5 separate regions of the Homo sapiens genome follow, and all the other regions are linked to region 2. Evidence: promoter capture Hi-C in 16 types of primary human blood cells and fetal thymus (Javierre and others, 2016). All regions are on one chromosome and are shown on one strand. The core of a region is centred on a gene start or on the middle of the fragment in contact, and the rest is flanking DNA. Distances in the headings are between cores, read along the strand shown. Region 1 has its middle 64 kb from the start of DNAJB6. Region 2 holds the start of SHH (sonic hedgehog signaling molecule). Region 3 overlaps LMBR1 (limb development membrane protein 1). Region 4 overlaps LMBR1 (limb development membrane protein 1). Region 5 holds the start of LMBR1 (limb development membrane protein 1).

What was found. The method cuts DNA at HindIII sites, captures the fragments that hold promoters and counts their contacts. A CHiCAGO score of 5 or more calls a contact.
Region 1: a fragment that was not itself captured here is called in contact with the fragment with the promoter of SHH in region 2 in 1 of 17 cell types (naive B cells); the score reaches 5.4 in naive B cells.
Region 3: a fragment that was not itself captured here is called in contact with the fragment with the promoter of SHH in region 2 in 1 of 17 cell types (total B cells); the score reaches 5.0 in total B cells.
Region 4: a fragment that was not itself captured here is called in contact with the fragment with the promoter of SHH in region 2 in 13 of 17 cell types (M1 macrophages, megakaryocytes, total CD4 T cells and 10 more); the score reaches 9.5 in M1 macrophages.
Region 5: the fragment with the promoter of LMBR1 here is called in contact with the fragment with the promoter of SHH in region 2 in 1 of 17 cell types (M1 macrophages); the score reaches 5.4 in M1 macrophages.

What each region holds. Positions count from the first base shown.
Region 1 is chr7:157,271,682-157,274,477 of GRCh38, forward strand. No RefSeq gene overlaps it. Among named protein-coding and RNA genes, the nearest start is that of DNAJB6, 64 kb to the right of the region's middle. RefSeq lists enhancers at 134-902, 294-588, 903-1,672. The HindIII fragment of the contact is 5,840 bases long and covers 1-2,796 here.
Region 2 is chr7:155,811,006-155,813,721 of GRCh38, forward strand. SHH (sonic hedgehog signaling molecule) reads right to left here and starts at 1,458. Exons shown (of 3, transcript NM_000193.4): 1 at 818-1,458. The coding sequence starts at 1,117. The HindIII fragment of the contact is 3,572 bases long and covers 1-1,525 here.
Region 3 is chr7:156,838,777-156,841,476 of GRCh38, forward strand. All of the region lies in intron 1 of LMBR1 (limb development membrane protein 1), which reads right to left. Among named protein-coding and RNA genes, the nearest start is that of LMBR1, 53 kb to the right of the region's middle. The HindIII fragment of the contact is 5,299 bases long and covers 1-2,700 here.
Region 4 is chr7:156,820,937-156,823,669 of GRCh38, forward strand. All of the region lies in intron 4 of LMBR1 (limb development membrane protein 1), which reads right to left. Among named protein-coding and RNA genes, the nearest start is that of LMBR1, 71 kb to the right of the region's middle. RefSeq lists an enhancer at 1-252. The HindIII fragment of the contact is 4,162 bases long and covers 1-2,733 here.
Region 5 is chr7:156,891,733-156,894,432 of GRCh38, forward strand. It overlaps LMBR1 (limb development membrane protein 1), which reads right to left and starts at 1,451. Exons shown (of 17, transcript NM_022458.4): 1 at 1,196-1,451. The coding sequence starts at 1,261. It overlaps LOC102723795 (a long non-coding RNA gene), which reads left to right and starts at 1,666. Exons shown (of 4, transcript XR_928253.3): 1 at 1,666-1,931. RefSeq lists silencers at 543-1,042, 1,093-1,672. The HindIII fragment of the contact is 17,725 bases long and covers 1-2,700 here.

The sequences.
Region 1 (2,796 bases), core at 52-2,551, 1.5 Mb after region 2:
TCGTGCTTGCATCCACAGACTTGACAGGACCAGAGCTGTTAGAGCTCATTCAAGTGTGAGGGGGGTAGTCTTTCTTAAAATGGTATCGTGTTCATGGTCATCAGCTCCCTGTGGCTGCTGTAGCAAATTACCACAAATCAGGTGGCTTAAAGCAGCAGCATTTCTCTCCTCCAGGGATCAGGAGGCCTCACAGCCTCAGGGAGGAACCCTTTGTCTCCTCCAGCTTCTGGTATCTGGTGTCTTCTCCCCCTGTCTCCAGTGTCCTGCCTTTTTCCTATAGACACCCCTGTAATCCAGGATGACTTCATCTCAAGATCCTCAATTACATCTGCAAAGACTTTTTCCAAATAAGGCCATGTATGTACACATGTCCTGGAGTCAGGACGTGGCCTGTTTCTTTGGGCAGCCCCATTCTGGCTGTGTTGATTTAAGTGTGGTAGGTAGACCCGTGGGGATTTCGAAACGTGTTCTGGTTGTACTTGGCTGTTGCCCACGCAGACGCAAACAAGCCTTTCCTTTGACTCAGTAAAACGAGCGGTGCATGAGATCAGTGTTCCCGGCCCTTCCTGAAGGCCATTGTGTCTCTAGGGGTTGGGGCTTAGCAGTCTGTATTTTTTATAGTGTCCTGGATAATCCTTCACAGGTGATTTCTGGAAAACAATTAGACAGTCTCAAAAAATCCTTTCAATGTTAAAAACTTCTAGGTTGGGAGTTGCAGGGCATTCCAGCTGATTTGCCTGGAGTTCATTTCTGGTGCTCCAGGGAGTCCTGATACCCGCAGCACCTGGGCCGGAACCTCCAGCTGTACGTGCCATCCAGGCTCCATGGAGGATGGTCTGTGGCACAGCTGCCGACTGCTCGGCTGTGGCCTGGCCCACAGCCCTTCGAGCCTCTACGTTTGCTTTTGCCCAGTCGGGGGTCAGGGAAGATGAGGCTGGTGCTGGGAGCTCCTATCTGAACCGTAAAACTGGTGTCAAGAGATCTTCAGCTCAGTATTTTGAACATAAAATAAGGCCCTCAGTTATAAGCTAATGATGGGTTCTAGAGGCTAATTGCAGCCCGGAGCCAGACGTGAGACTCCAGTCCGGACTGCGTTCTATGTTCCCGACACGCGGGCTGTCCCTAGGCACCTGGCCCTCCTCAGGTCAGCCTGGCCTTCTCCCACTCAACACCTACCACTGCATCACAGACCCTCCCAACAACACCTGAGGCCTTCCTGCCGCTTTCTCTGCCCCTCCCTGTCCCAAGCCATTGGCTTAGAATTGCAGCAAAGTGTCCTCCGTCCTCAGTTCCTGCCCACTGCCAAAGTGACCCTGACCTCAAGTCAGTTCATGACACTCTGGGCAAGACCTTCCAGTGTGTCCCCAGCTCAGGGAGAGCTGAGACCCTGTCATTCGCCCCTGGTGCCATCAGACCGCGCCCCTCCCCGGCTTGGGGCCCTGGGATGTGTGCTGTGCTGTGGCGCATGGCTGATCTCGTGTTGTACAGCAGTTTATTGCCCAGTGCCACCTCCCCTGCCACACCCTATTTAAAACACAGCCCCCCTGACCTCAGCACATCCATCCTCTCTTATTGGTATCTTTCTCTAGAGTGCTGATTTTCATCTAATACACCATGTACTTCACTCACCTATTACTTCCTTTCTCCCCCACCATGTAAGTTTCATGGAGGGTGGGAGGTTAGTAAACTGCTGTTTACCAAGCATGTAGAATAACGCCTTGCACACAGCAGATGCTCAGTAAATACTGGTTGAGTGCATGGATTTGCTACATCTATGGAGAACAGTCTTGCTAACTAAGGTAAATTTCAAGTTAGCCCCTGTATGGTTCCTACCCTCAATTCTTGGACCCCCATTTTTCTCACGAGAGCCTCCCTGCGGCTGCCAGCCGGCCCTAGCTCAGGGTAGGAGTGGGCGCCCGGTGCAGGCCGCCCAGGCACCGCCTTTCTGGTGGTCCCACTGCGGGCAGCTGCCCACGTGTCCAGCAAGTGCCTGCCTGGCCTGCTCCAGACCCCGGGTCGGCTTCGTGGTCCTGGGCAGTGCGTGGGCTCCATCTGGTGGTCAGGAGTGGGCACTGCGTGTGGAAGGGCGCCCGGCGCTCTGGAAGGTGATCTTCACCCGGGTGCCTGCCCCCGCAACCAGAGTCAGCAGGCTTGCACTGCTTGTGTCTCCTCATCAGGAAGTGGCTAATAAAATAGCAATATAAAGCTGACCTTTTAAGAGAAATGTTAAAGTTTTTGAGATGGAGTTTCCCTCTTGTTGCCCAGGCTGGAGTGCGGTGGTGCAATCTTGGATCACTGCAACCTCTGCTTCCTGGGTTCAAGCAATTCTCCTGCCTCAGCCTCCCACATAGCTGGGATTACAGGCACCCGCCACCACGCCCAGCTAATTTTGTATTTTTAATAGAGACAGGATTTTGCCATGTTGGCCAGGGTGGTCCCAAACTCCTGACCTCAGGCGATCCGCCCACCTTGGCCTCCCGAAGTGCTGGGATTACAGGCGTGAGCCACTGTGCCCAGCAGAAATGTTAAAGTTTAACATCCCATTGCCTTAGTTCCTCAAATGTTACACACACAGCAGCAAGCCAGCAGTTTCTACTAGGTTTACAGTAGAGAAGGGAAACCTGGCCAGGCACCCGAGCTCATGTCTGTAATCCCAGCACTTTGGGAGGCCAAGGCAGGTGGATCGCTTGAGGCCAGGAGTTTGAGACCAGCCTGGGCAACATGGCAAAACCCCATCTCTACAAAAAATAAAAAGGTTAGCAGGGCATGGTTGGTGCACGCCTGTGGTCTCAGCTA
Region 2 (2,716 bases), core at 208-2,707:
AATATTTATTCGCTCTTAATTCTTATGCAAGCAGGTTGAAAACTAAAGTGATGCAATGCCAATAAGTTCTAAGTCCCTCCCCTAAGGTACCTCGGGCTTGGAAGAACGAAAGAGCATCCTTAAAGAAATATCAATACATTCACACTCTGATGGGCACAATTGCGGACACGCAATCGCAAAGCCAGCTCTGCGATACAGCCAGCCACCCAGGGACGGGCGGAGTCTCCCCTGGAGCCCCTGCCTTTTGTCAGAACCGCCTCCTGGCTTTTCCAGTTGAGAATTCTTTGGTGGGGAGGTGCAGGGTGGGGGTAGTGGTGGGAAAGAAAACCACAGAGGCAACGGGAAACGTGGGGGCTCTGAGCTCCAATGCCCAAGGCTACGTTCGTTCGTTCGTACAGTACCAGGAGACCACTTCATGTTTGTGGGAGGGGGATTCCCAGCCTCTCCTTCCATTTCCACTCCTGACTTGGAAAGGGCCGACGCCCCCAAAGTGAAGGTCTCCCCAAGTTACAAGCCAGGGCAGAGGTAGGATGGGGAAGGCCATTGTAGCAAGACTCATCAAATCAGGGCCATAATGAACCACGTCTGTTACCGTCCTCACCCCCACCACACCCTAAACTTCTCCAGCTGGACCCTTGACCTCCATTCTCCTCCAGGAAGAGGAAGAGATGGGGGGCGGGCAGGTGGGTGGGGAAGGAGCGGGTGAAATCACCTTCCTATCTGCCCGAAGAGCAAACAGAGTTAAGTCTGGAAGTGTTCGGCTTCTCGTAACCCCCTGGAAAGCCACACATTCCACGCCCCGGCGCTGGGTTCCTACCTGAGTCATCAGCCTGTCCGCTCCGGTGTTTTCTTCATCCTTAAATATGATGTCGGGGTTGTAATTGGGGGTGAGTTCCTTAAATCGCTCGGAGTTTCTGGAGATCTTCCCTTCATACCTTCCGCTGGCGCCTAGGGTCTTCTCGGCCACATTGGGGATAAACTGCTTGTAGGCTAAAGGGGTCAGCTTTTTGGGGTGCCTCCTCTTCCCGAACCCCCTGCCCGGTCCGCACGCCAGTCCCGAGCATACCAGCAGCGAGGAGACGAGGACTAGCAGCAGACATCTCGCCAGCAGCAGCATCTCGCCCATGGAACTGATGACTTCCGAGCTGTCCCCGTGCGGGTCCGTGCGCGAGTGCGCGCGGCGGGTGTGTGCGTGTGCGCTCTCTCTTGCGCTTTCCCTTCCTCGCTCCGGCTCGCCCGCTCGCTCTCTCCCTCGCTGGCTGCCTCGCTCTTTCTCTTCCTATATAACCTTGCCCGCCGCGGCTGCGGGGGACTCTCCACCGCTCCCCACCCAGACAGGGGCTGGAATGGCAGGCTGCCGGCCGCTGATAACGGAACACATCGGAGTTGGGTCGCGAGACAGCAATCAAAAGACAAAAAGAGTCTGATTTTAAATGGTAGCAAGCCTGGAGAGCTTGTGAGAGAGGCTGCCTTTAGCACTATATTATAGCTGCCAGGGGCGCATCTGATTGGCCAAAGCCGCACAAGCTTGTCTTCTGATGTTAACCCTGAAGAAGACTACGTTTTTTTTTTCTGTTGCTGCTGTTGCTTTATTTTCACCTGAAGGATTCGAGTTAAAAAAAAAAAAATCTTTCCTAAGATAAAGGTGGGCGGGAGGGAGGAGCGCATGTCTTGTGGTAACAGCAGTTACTCCCGGCTTTGTGTACATCCTTGCGTTTCCCCCTGACTTTCCCTGGAATGGTAGGTGCTTCAGTTAAAACCAACTTAAGTTTTTAAAGGACAGTTTAAACCCCCGCAAGCTTCAGTCATCAAGCACAGAGTCGCTCACACATTTGAGGGGCACAGCTGCCCAGCTGTTATTTAATTTTTCTTCCCCAGGGACTTTATAGTGCAGGCTGGCTCTCCCTGCATTTTGAAGAAAGAGGACTGAGCCCCTCCTGAAGACTCAGCCTCTGTGGACCGAGGATAATTATGAGTGACCATAACTTAAAGCACTGGTATTTGAAATGCTTTAAGTGCCTTAGAAAAATGTAAAAATACTGCTCTTTTATTGTGCTTCAATTAATACATTTTTTTTTTTGTAGAGCTCTGCAAATGGGATGGAGGCGTGCTCAAGGGCAGTTACAGAGTGAACTGCGGGCGTCAGGGTGGATGGGCAAAGCAGGTCTGGGGGCTGCACCCCAGCACAGGGGAGAGAGTGGGGGCCAGTGTGTGCGCTGGGTGTGTGGAGGCCATTGCAGGGTGTTGGGGGGGGGGCAGGCGAGTGGGCGAAGCTGTGCTCACACAACCCCCACGATCGATCAGAGCAAAGTGCAGAGCCAGGGGTGAGCTGAATGTGGAATTCAGGCTCCTTGCAAAGCTGGCCTTGTGTGGGGGCTCAGCAGGCCAGCAGTCTTCAGGCACAGGAGCCACCAGTCCTAGGGGCTGCAGCCCAAGGGGTCAGGGGCCCTGGGGGAACAGTGTTCTGGTTAACGAGGGGCTTCCTAGAAAGAGGGCACAGTGCCCAGGAGGTGGCAATCTTTGAGTCTATAATCACCTCACTTTTTGCAGAAAAAGGAAAAAAACTCAAAAGTCCTAAGTAAACCAGGAAAATAAAATTTGAAGCTCCCTCTCAACCCTGCTTTTCTTTTTTTTTTTAAAAAAAAAAAAACAGATCATGCCCTTCCCCTTCTCAATCGCCATCCCACTCATGTGCAATGATTCCTCTAGCATAGGA
Region 3 (2,700 bases), core at 198-2,697, 1.0 Mb after region 2:
TTTTGAGGAATCCCCACACTGTTTTTTATAACGGCCATACTAATTTGCATTCCCACCAACAATGTACAAGGGTTCCCTTCTCGCCACATCTTCATCAACCCTTGTTATCTTTTGTGTTTTTGATTACAGCCACCCTAACAGATGTGAGGTGATAGGTCATGGTGGTTTTGACTTATATGTCCCTGATGATTAGTGATGTTGAACACATTTTCATATACCTATTGGCCATCTGTATGTCTTCTTTTGAGAAATATCTATTCTAGTCCTTTGCTTTTTTTTTTTTTTTTTTTTGGACAGAGTTTCACTCTTGTTGTTCAGACTGGAGTGCAATGGCGCGATCTTGGCTCATTGCAACCTCCACCTCCCAGGTTCAAGTGATTCTCCTGCCTCAGCCTCCCAAGTGGCTGGGACTACAGGCTCACACCACCACACCTGGCTAATTTTGTATTTTTAGTAGAGACGGGGTTTCACCATGTTGGTCAGGCTGGTCTCGAACTCCTGACCACAGGTGATCCACCTGTGTCAGCCTCCTAAAGTGCTGGGATTACAGGTGTGAGCCACTGTGCCCAGCCGCCCATTTTTTAATCAGGTTAATTGTTTAATTTCAATTGAATTTCTATCAGATCTGGGGAATGCCAGACCGACAAAAAAGGATGGGTCAACAGGAGATCTCGTTACAGTCAAAGACTGTGTGCTAGAAATAAAGGTTTGCCACAGCTTGTTGTGGAACATGGAAAAAAAAATTGAAGACTCTCAAATGAAACCATTCTGAGTGATGATGAAGTCTAGAGAATATCCCTTGTGTGTATTTCTGAAGAAGTACTGGTGGCCATATGACTGAGAACAACTTTGGACCAGGATAGTGGACATTCCCTGCACATCATCATGTAGGAATGACAAACGGAGAATGAAGAAGACTACTAGCTGTGTGCCAAAGCTCTCCCAATACACAAGGGAGAGAAACAGAAGACAGTACTGACAGCAACCAAAAGGACCAAAGGGCATCAAAGATTCCCTGCCACTGGAAGCCACGTACCTGTTGGGAACACTGGCTAGACAAGAAAATGTCAACAGCATCGCTACCTTCTCCCAAAATTATCTGGAGTGTAGAAGATGGGCCAAAGAGGAAAACCAGCTCTTGGAGAAGAAATGTAAATGGAGAGGTCTTCTAAGAAGTTGAGAATAAGGGGAAATTGTTTACAATGGAATGAAGTCTGAGTAAGGCTACAAGAGCAATGGAGAGAAGACAGAAACACAGTGAATCATGAGGTTAAAGTCAGAGAGATTCGATGACCAAGGGAATTAATATTTAGGACAGAGGCTGATTTAAATTCATTCACATTTTATTCATTCAAATAAAAACAATTTTTACTGTGGGCTTGCTATATACCAGGCACTCTTCTAGGAACTGGGACATAGCAGTGAACAAAGTTATAGCCCTCATGGAGCTTACAGTACACTGCGAGAAAAAGACAATAAATAAATATAAAGTGTGTCGTATGATAATTATGCAACGTTAGAGGAACAGGAAGTGCCAGCAGGGGTGGGGGCATGTCTCACTAATAAGGTGACATCTGAGGAAAGAGTTGTGGGACAAGAAGGGCCAAGACATGCAGAAATCTAGAGGAACGGGGGAGGATTTGAGGCAGAGAGAACAGTAGTGCCAAGGGTCGGAGGCAATAATGGCTCTGGTGTGCTCAAACAATGAGTGGGCAGAAGTAAGAGACAAGGTCAGAAAATAATGGGAGCCCACTATTCGGGTCACGCAAGACTCAGGTACTGTGTGTCGGTTTTTACCCTGAGTGAGACAGAATTCCACTGTAGGATTCTGAGTAGAGGGTGATAGGATCTGACACAGTGCAAAAGGCTCACTATAAGTGCTATGCAGAAAATAAACTGGAGGCCGGGCGCGGTGGCTCACTCCTGTAATCCCAGCACTTTGGGAGGCCGAGGCGGGTGGATCACGAGGTCAGGAGATCGAGACCATCCTGACTAACATGGTGAAACCCCGTCTCTACTAAAAATACAAAAAAAAAAAATTAGCCGGGCGTCGTGGCGGGCGTCTGTAGTCCTAGCTACTCGGGGGGCTGAGGCAGGAGAATGGCGTGAACCTGGGAGGCAGAGGTTGCAATGAGCCGAGATCGTGCCACTGCACTCCAGCCTGGGCGACTGAGCAAGACTCGGTCTCAAAAAAAAAAAAAAAAAAAAGAAAAAGAAAAGAAACTGGAAAAGGGCCAGGACAGAGGCAAGGAGAGCAGGCAACAAAGAACTGCAGGAAGCCGAGAGCAGCCACTCGGACCTGTGCAAGGAGGTGCTCAGAAGACATGGAATTCTGGGCACGTTTTGAAAGCAGACATGATAAGATTTGCTAGAATAAATATAAGGTTCTTTGCCTGAGAAACTGGAAAGACAGAGTTGCCATTTCAGGACTCAGGAAAGATTAGAAGAGGAGTAGTTTTGAGGGAGAAATAAGTATAGCTTAACACTGTTGAATCTGACATACATATAATTCACTCAGGTCAAGAGGCTGGATGGGCAGTTGGATAAAAATCTGTACCATTCAGAAGAAAGGGCCAGGCCATAAATTTTTTAAAACCTTAGAATCATCTGCAGATGATATTTAAAGTCCTGAGACTAGACGAGATTTCCATCCCAGGGAGTAAGTATAGCCAGAGAAGAGAAGTCTGAGAATAGAGACCT
Region 4 (2,733 bases), core at 36-2,535, 1.0 Mb after region 2:
GTGAACTGCAGCACAGGCCCTTAGGATGTTGGGGCAACGCCCTGCCATCCTTGTGGGTAACAACTGCCTTTGAGAAACAGCTCTTGACCCACTATGGGGCTTTAGTAGGGATTGAATGCTGAAACATGGACCACCAAGTTACCATGGGACCTGAGTTGCCCATCATGAACTGAATGTTTTCCGACCCACCAAGCCAGAAAGTTGGGTGTGCACAGCAGCATTCCATCATCAAATGGAAGTGGTACATGTCTGGGCCTAAGTAGGCCCTAAAGGCACAAGTTACATAAAGAAGTGCCGCCAATGCCGACGGTCCCCACTCCCGCTACGCTGCCTTCTCTCTCCCAGCCTGCACCTACAGTCTCCTGGAGAGTTCCCTAAAATCAGCTGACGGAGGAAGACCTGGGCCTGGTTTACAGATGGTTCTGCATGATATGCAGGCCCCCACGTTAGTGGACAACTGCAGCACTACTGCCCCTTTCTGGAACATCCCTAAAAGGACAGCGGTGAAGGGAAACTCTCCGATGGGCAGATCTATGGGCTGTACATCTGGTGGTTTGCTTTGCTTGGAAAGAGAAATAGCCAAATGTGTGATTATTACATATTAATGGACCATGGCCAATGGTTTGGCCAGATGCTCAGAGTCTTGAAGAAACACAATTGGAAAACTGGAAATAAGAAAATTGGGATGAGGTACATGAACAGACCTCTTTGAATGGGAAAAAAATGTGAAAGTATTTGTGTCCCATGTGAATGCTCACCAAAGGGTGACCTCAGCAGAGGAAGATTTTAATAATTAAGTGGATAGGCTGACTGGCTCTGTGGATACTAGTCAGCCTCCTTCCCCAGCCACCCCTGTCATTGCCCAATGGGCTCAGGAACAAAGTCACCATGATGGTAGGGACGGAGATCATACATGGACCCAGCACCTTCTACTCACCAAGGCTGGCCTGGCTACAGCCACTGCTAAGGACCCAATCTGCTAACTGTGACTTTTGTTTTCCAAATCTCCCCACCAAATATTTATTTATTTAAACACACACGAACATGTTTATACACATACATTTCCCTAACACAGACAAAACAATTAAAAGACAAATTTCCATAGCATTGTAATGTCCCATATTGCACAAAATACATGCCTTTGCTTACGAAAACCTTCATAAAATGTATGAACTTTTTAAAACCTAGTAGGAGCAAAGTATTACAAAACTACAGTCTTTAAAACAATATGGCACTGGCATAGGAATAGACAGACAAACCAGAGGGAAAAAACAGAAAGTAAAACTCAGCATTTATTTCCTGCTTACTCTTGGCCACCAGGCAATAGACTAGGTACTTTATACTATACATATATTCCACTTACTACATATAATAATTCTATAAACTAGACCTTGATATGGTCATTTTATAGATAAAAGACTGAGACTCTGAAAGCGTAAACAATATGCTCAAGGTTGCTAAGGGTTTCAGACAGATTTGAAATTCAAGCCCAGGTCTATCTGACTCCAAAACCTGCATACCTGAGCCCAGAAACAAACGCTAATATAATATTTAGCTTACTGAAAATGAAGCATAAAAAATCAGTACAGAAAAGAATATTCAATTAATGGTATTGGGACAACTAGCTGTCATATCTCAGGGTGGGAAACAATCTTCTAAACACAAAAACAATTAGAGACACCAAGAGAAAAAGAAAAACCAAATATTATAAAAAATATTCAAATTCTGGAAAAAAGCAATTAATATTAAAAAGCAAAATAACAATCAGAAAAACATGTAAAAAATTGAAATGAAAAGCTGATGTGTTCAAACAAAGAGATCATAAATTCAATATGAAAAAAGCAACAACCACAAAAAAGGGCAAAGGACATTAATCAAATAAAATATACATGGGCTGGGCACGGTGGCTCATGCCTGTAATCCCAGCATTTCAGAGGCCGAAGAGGGTGGATCACTTGAGGTCAGGAGTTTGAGGCCAGCCTGGCCAACATGGTGAAACCCCCTGTCTCTACTAAAAATATAAAAATGATCTGGGCGTGGTGGCACACACCTGTAGTCCCCGCTCCTCAGGAAGCTGAGGCAGGAGAATCGCTTGAACCCGGGAGGTAGAGGTTGCAGTGAGCCAAGACTGCGCCACTGCACTCCAGCCTGGGCAACAGAGCAACACTTCATCTCAAAAAAATTATAATAATAAAATAAATAAATAAAAATAAAATGATATATGTATTAGATATTTTTCTATATTTTATAAATTAAAATTAAAATGTCCTATCTGACTAAAAATTTTTTAAATTAACATTACAATAATGAGAAACTACCTTCTACCCATGAAAATGGAAAAGATTTTAAAGATACTAATATTCACTGTTATTAAGTTTATGGCTAAAAACAAGAGGCACCTTCATGGTCTATCAAGAGAATATAAACAAGTAATTCTAGAAAACAGTTTAGCAATTAATACTCATTAGCCTAATAATTTTCATTCTAATTTCCATGTAAAGAAATTGTCAGAAACCCAAATAATAATGAAAATTTAAAAATCCTCTAGATGCTCAACAACAGTTTACTGGTGAAGTGAAATGTTTCACAAAGAGGACAGGGTGGGTTTGGTGCCTGAGGAACAACTCAGCTGTTTTCTATTGCAAATCTGAAAAAAATGCAGGTAGCAAGTCACTGGAGGGATAAATGGTTCCACCCTTTAAAATGACGAAATAGCCTTTGAAAACCACTAGC
Region 5 (2,700 bases), core at 201-2,700, 1.1 Mb after region 2:
GTACATGTATGATTACATGAACTTATCTCTGTGTATTTTAGCTTCAATTATAAAAATTACAACTAAATGTGTACCAAATTCCACTAACTCAAATTCCACCAGCTCAGACTTTATATGTCCTCTTTATTCAAAGTATGACTTCCAAAGTGATTCTCAATTTTCAAGATCAGTGAGTACACAAATTAGATAATTCTAAAGCAGAATTTTTTCACCTCAAACCAAGTGTGACTGAATCGTAGACAACTTAGGAGAGGCGTAAATATAAACATAAAAAATTGACATATTTTACAACAGTTATGAAAACACAGATAAACCCAATTACAATACATTCTAGAGCATCATGAAAAGATAAAAACATCAAAGTAGACTTTCCAAGGTCAAGTCCGCTTCCTGACTCCTGCCAACAGCACACATGGAACATGGGCCAAAAAAGAAGCTGCTTCCCTAAGAAGTTGCTTCCATAGCAAAATGGACTTTTGCTGAGGTCCTCACTCCCAAAAATAACCAATATTCTCATCCCAAACGGTAAGGTTTCGAACTCAACCCACGTGGGGGCTGGGGGAGATGAAAGAGGGATGGAAACGTGAGGCGCCAGGAGGGCAGGAGGTGTTGACCGGGACAAGGTAACCGGCCGGGTCCAAACGCGAGAGGCGGGCGGGCTCCGCGCAGCCCGGCCCTTCCCGGACCCGCCGGGCCCACCCAGGCTCTCCGGGACGCCTGCGCATCCACCTGCCTACCTGGCCTGGCGGCGGAGCGCGGGGGCGCGCACTGGCGGGGCCGCCGTCCACACCCCGAGGCGCGAGCCGCACACCCGCCCAGAGAGGAAGCCCCTGGGGTCCCAGAGCGCGGCGCGCACCGCAGCCCTCCCCGCGGGAAGGGAAGGGCAGCACCGAGGCCGCGGGGCGGGGGCGGGGTCGGGGCTCGAACGGAGGGAGCGCGAGGGGGCAGGGGAGGCAAGAGCGGAGCGGGGGGGCAGGCAGAGGAAGCGAAGGGGAGGGGAGGGGAGAGGAGAGGTGGGGAGGGAAGGGGAGGGGAGGGGAGAGGAGGGGTGGGGAGGGAGAGCGGCAGAGGCCGGGGCGGGAGGCGCGAGGCGAGGCCCGGAGGTGAGGGGTCCGGGGACCGGGGGCCCGGGGGCGGGGACGGAGGGCCCGGGCGGGCACGCGGGACTGTCAGGGCTGCCTCGGTCCCCACGCACCGTGGACTCCCGCACTTGGCTGTGGAAGTGCTGCTCCCGCGCCGACACCTCGTCCTGCCCTTCCATCCTCCTTCATGCCCGCCGCCGCGCCGCCCGCGTCCGCGTGCTCCGCCACACCATCGTCCGCCCGCCGCAGGGGCTCGGACAGCCGCGCCGGGGACCGGAGCCGGCACGGGCCCGCGAGCCGTGTTGGAACAGGTACCGCGACCACGACACCGGCCGTCGCCTCAGCAGCCTCAGACGAGCAGCTCTGACTAAGGGAGGGCGGGCGCCGCGCAGTCGGGGGCGGGGCGGGGGCGGGGCAGGGAGGGGAGGGGGCGGTGCAGGCATACGTCAGACGAAAGGCGCCGATGCGTCAGAAAAGCGCGCCTCGCGGTCTTCCGAGCTGCTGGGCCGGGAGGCGCTGAGGGGGCGGGGCCTTGAGGTCGCGGGGCGGGGCTCCGCCCACGCTCTCAGGGGCTACCCCAGTTAAGGAGGCGCTGTCCTGGCGTCGGATGGGGACGGGGAACGCGGCGAGGGCGCTGCGACCTCTGCCCACCTGGCCCGGCCGCAGTCTCGGAGTTCCTGTTCCTCACAGGAGCTAATTATTTATGACAGCTGCATGGTTCCCCTCCCCCAGTTACTCAGTGCTTGGCACTCGGCACCCCTTACTCAGCACTCAGTACCGCACTCGGCCTCAGGGGACCTGGGCAGAGGGAAGCAGGGAGTCTCCCGCGGAAACTCTTGCTCTGCCAAAGTAGGTTGAAAGGTCGGAAATCGGTGGTTTGGGGCCGGGCTTTGGGCGGAAACCCAGCTTCTCTGGGTCTGAGAAGGGTCTTGGGCTGCCCCACCTGGAAAACGCAGATAACCGAGCTCGCTAGACCCTTGCCAAGTCCTTCCGGTAGCTCGGTCACTAGGGTCAGTTTTATGACTCTCAGTGGACCCTAAACAGCACGTAATATATGTATTTTTCACCGCCAAATATATCAAACACAATAATTCACCCTCCGTTCCCTATTATCTTTCTTTTTGTTATAAAATTTGAATTTAAGGGAATGTTTATAATTTTACCTTAGGATTTATTTGGCTACGAGGAAGTCATTTAAATTGCTAGTGGCTGCGATTTTTGTTTTTGGCATCTTTGAGAATTCTTAGGAAGTGTGAAAATCTACAAATTGCTTTCAAATGTCATTTAGTTTTTGTTTTTGTTTTTTTTTTTTTTGAGACAGAGTTTCACTCTTGTCGCCCAGGCTGGAGTGCAATGGCGATCTCTGCTCACAACAACCTCTGCCTCTTGGGTTCAAGTGATTCTCCTGCCTCAGCCTCCCGAGTAGCTGGGATTACAGGCGCCCGCCACCACGCCCAGCTAATTTTTGTATTTTTAGTAGAGACGGGGTTTCACCACGTTGGCCAAGCTGTTCTTGAACTCCTGACCTCAGGTGATCCGCCCACCTCGTCCTCCCAAAGTGCTGGGATTACAGGCCTGAGCCACCGCGCCCGGCCGTTGTTTAGATTTTTATGAATCT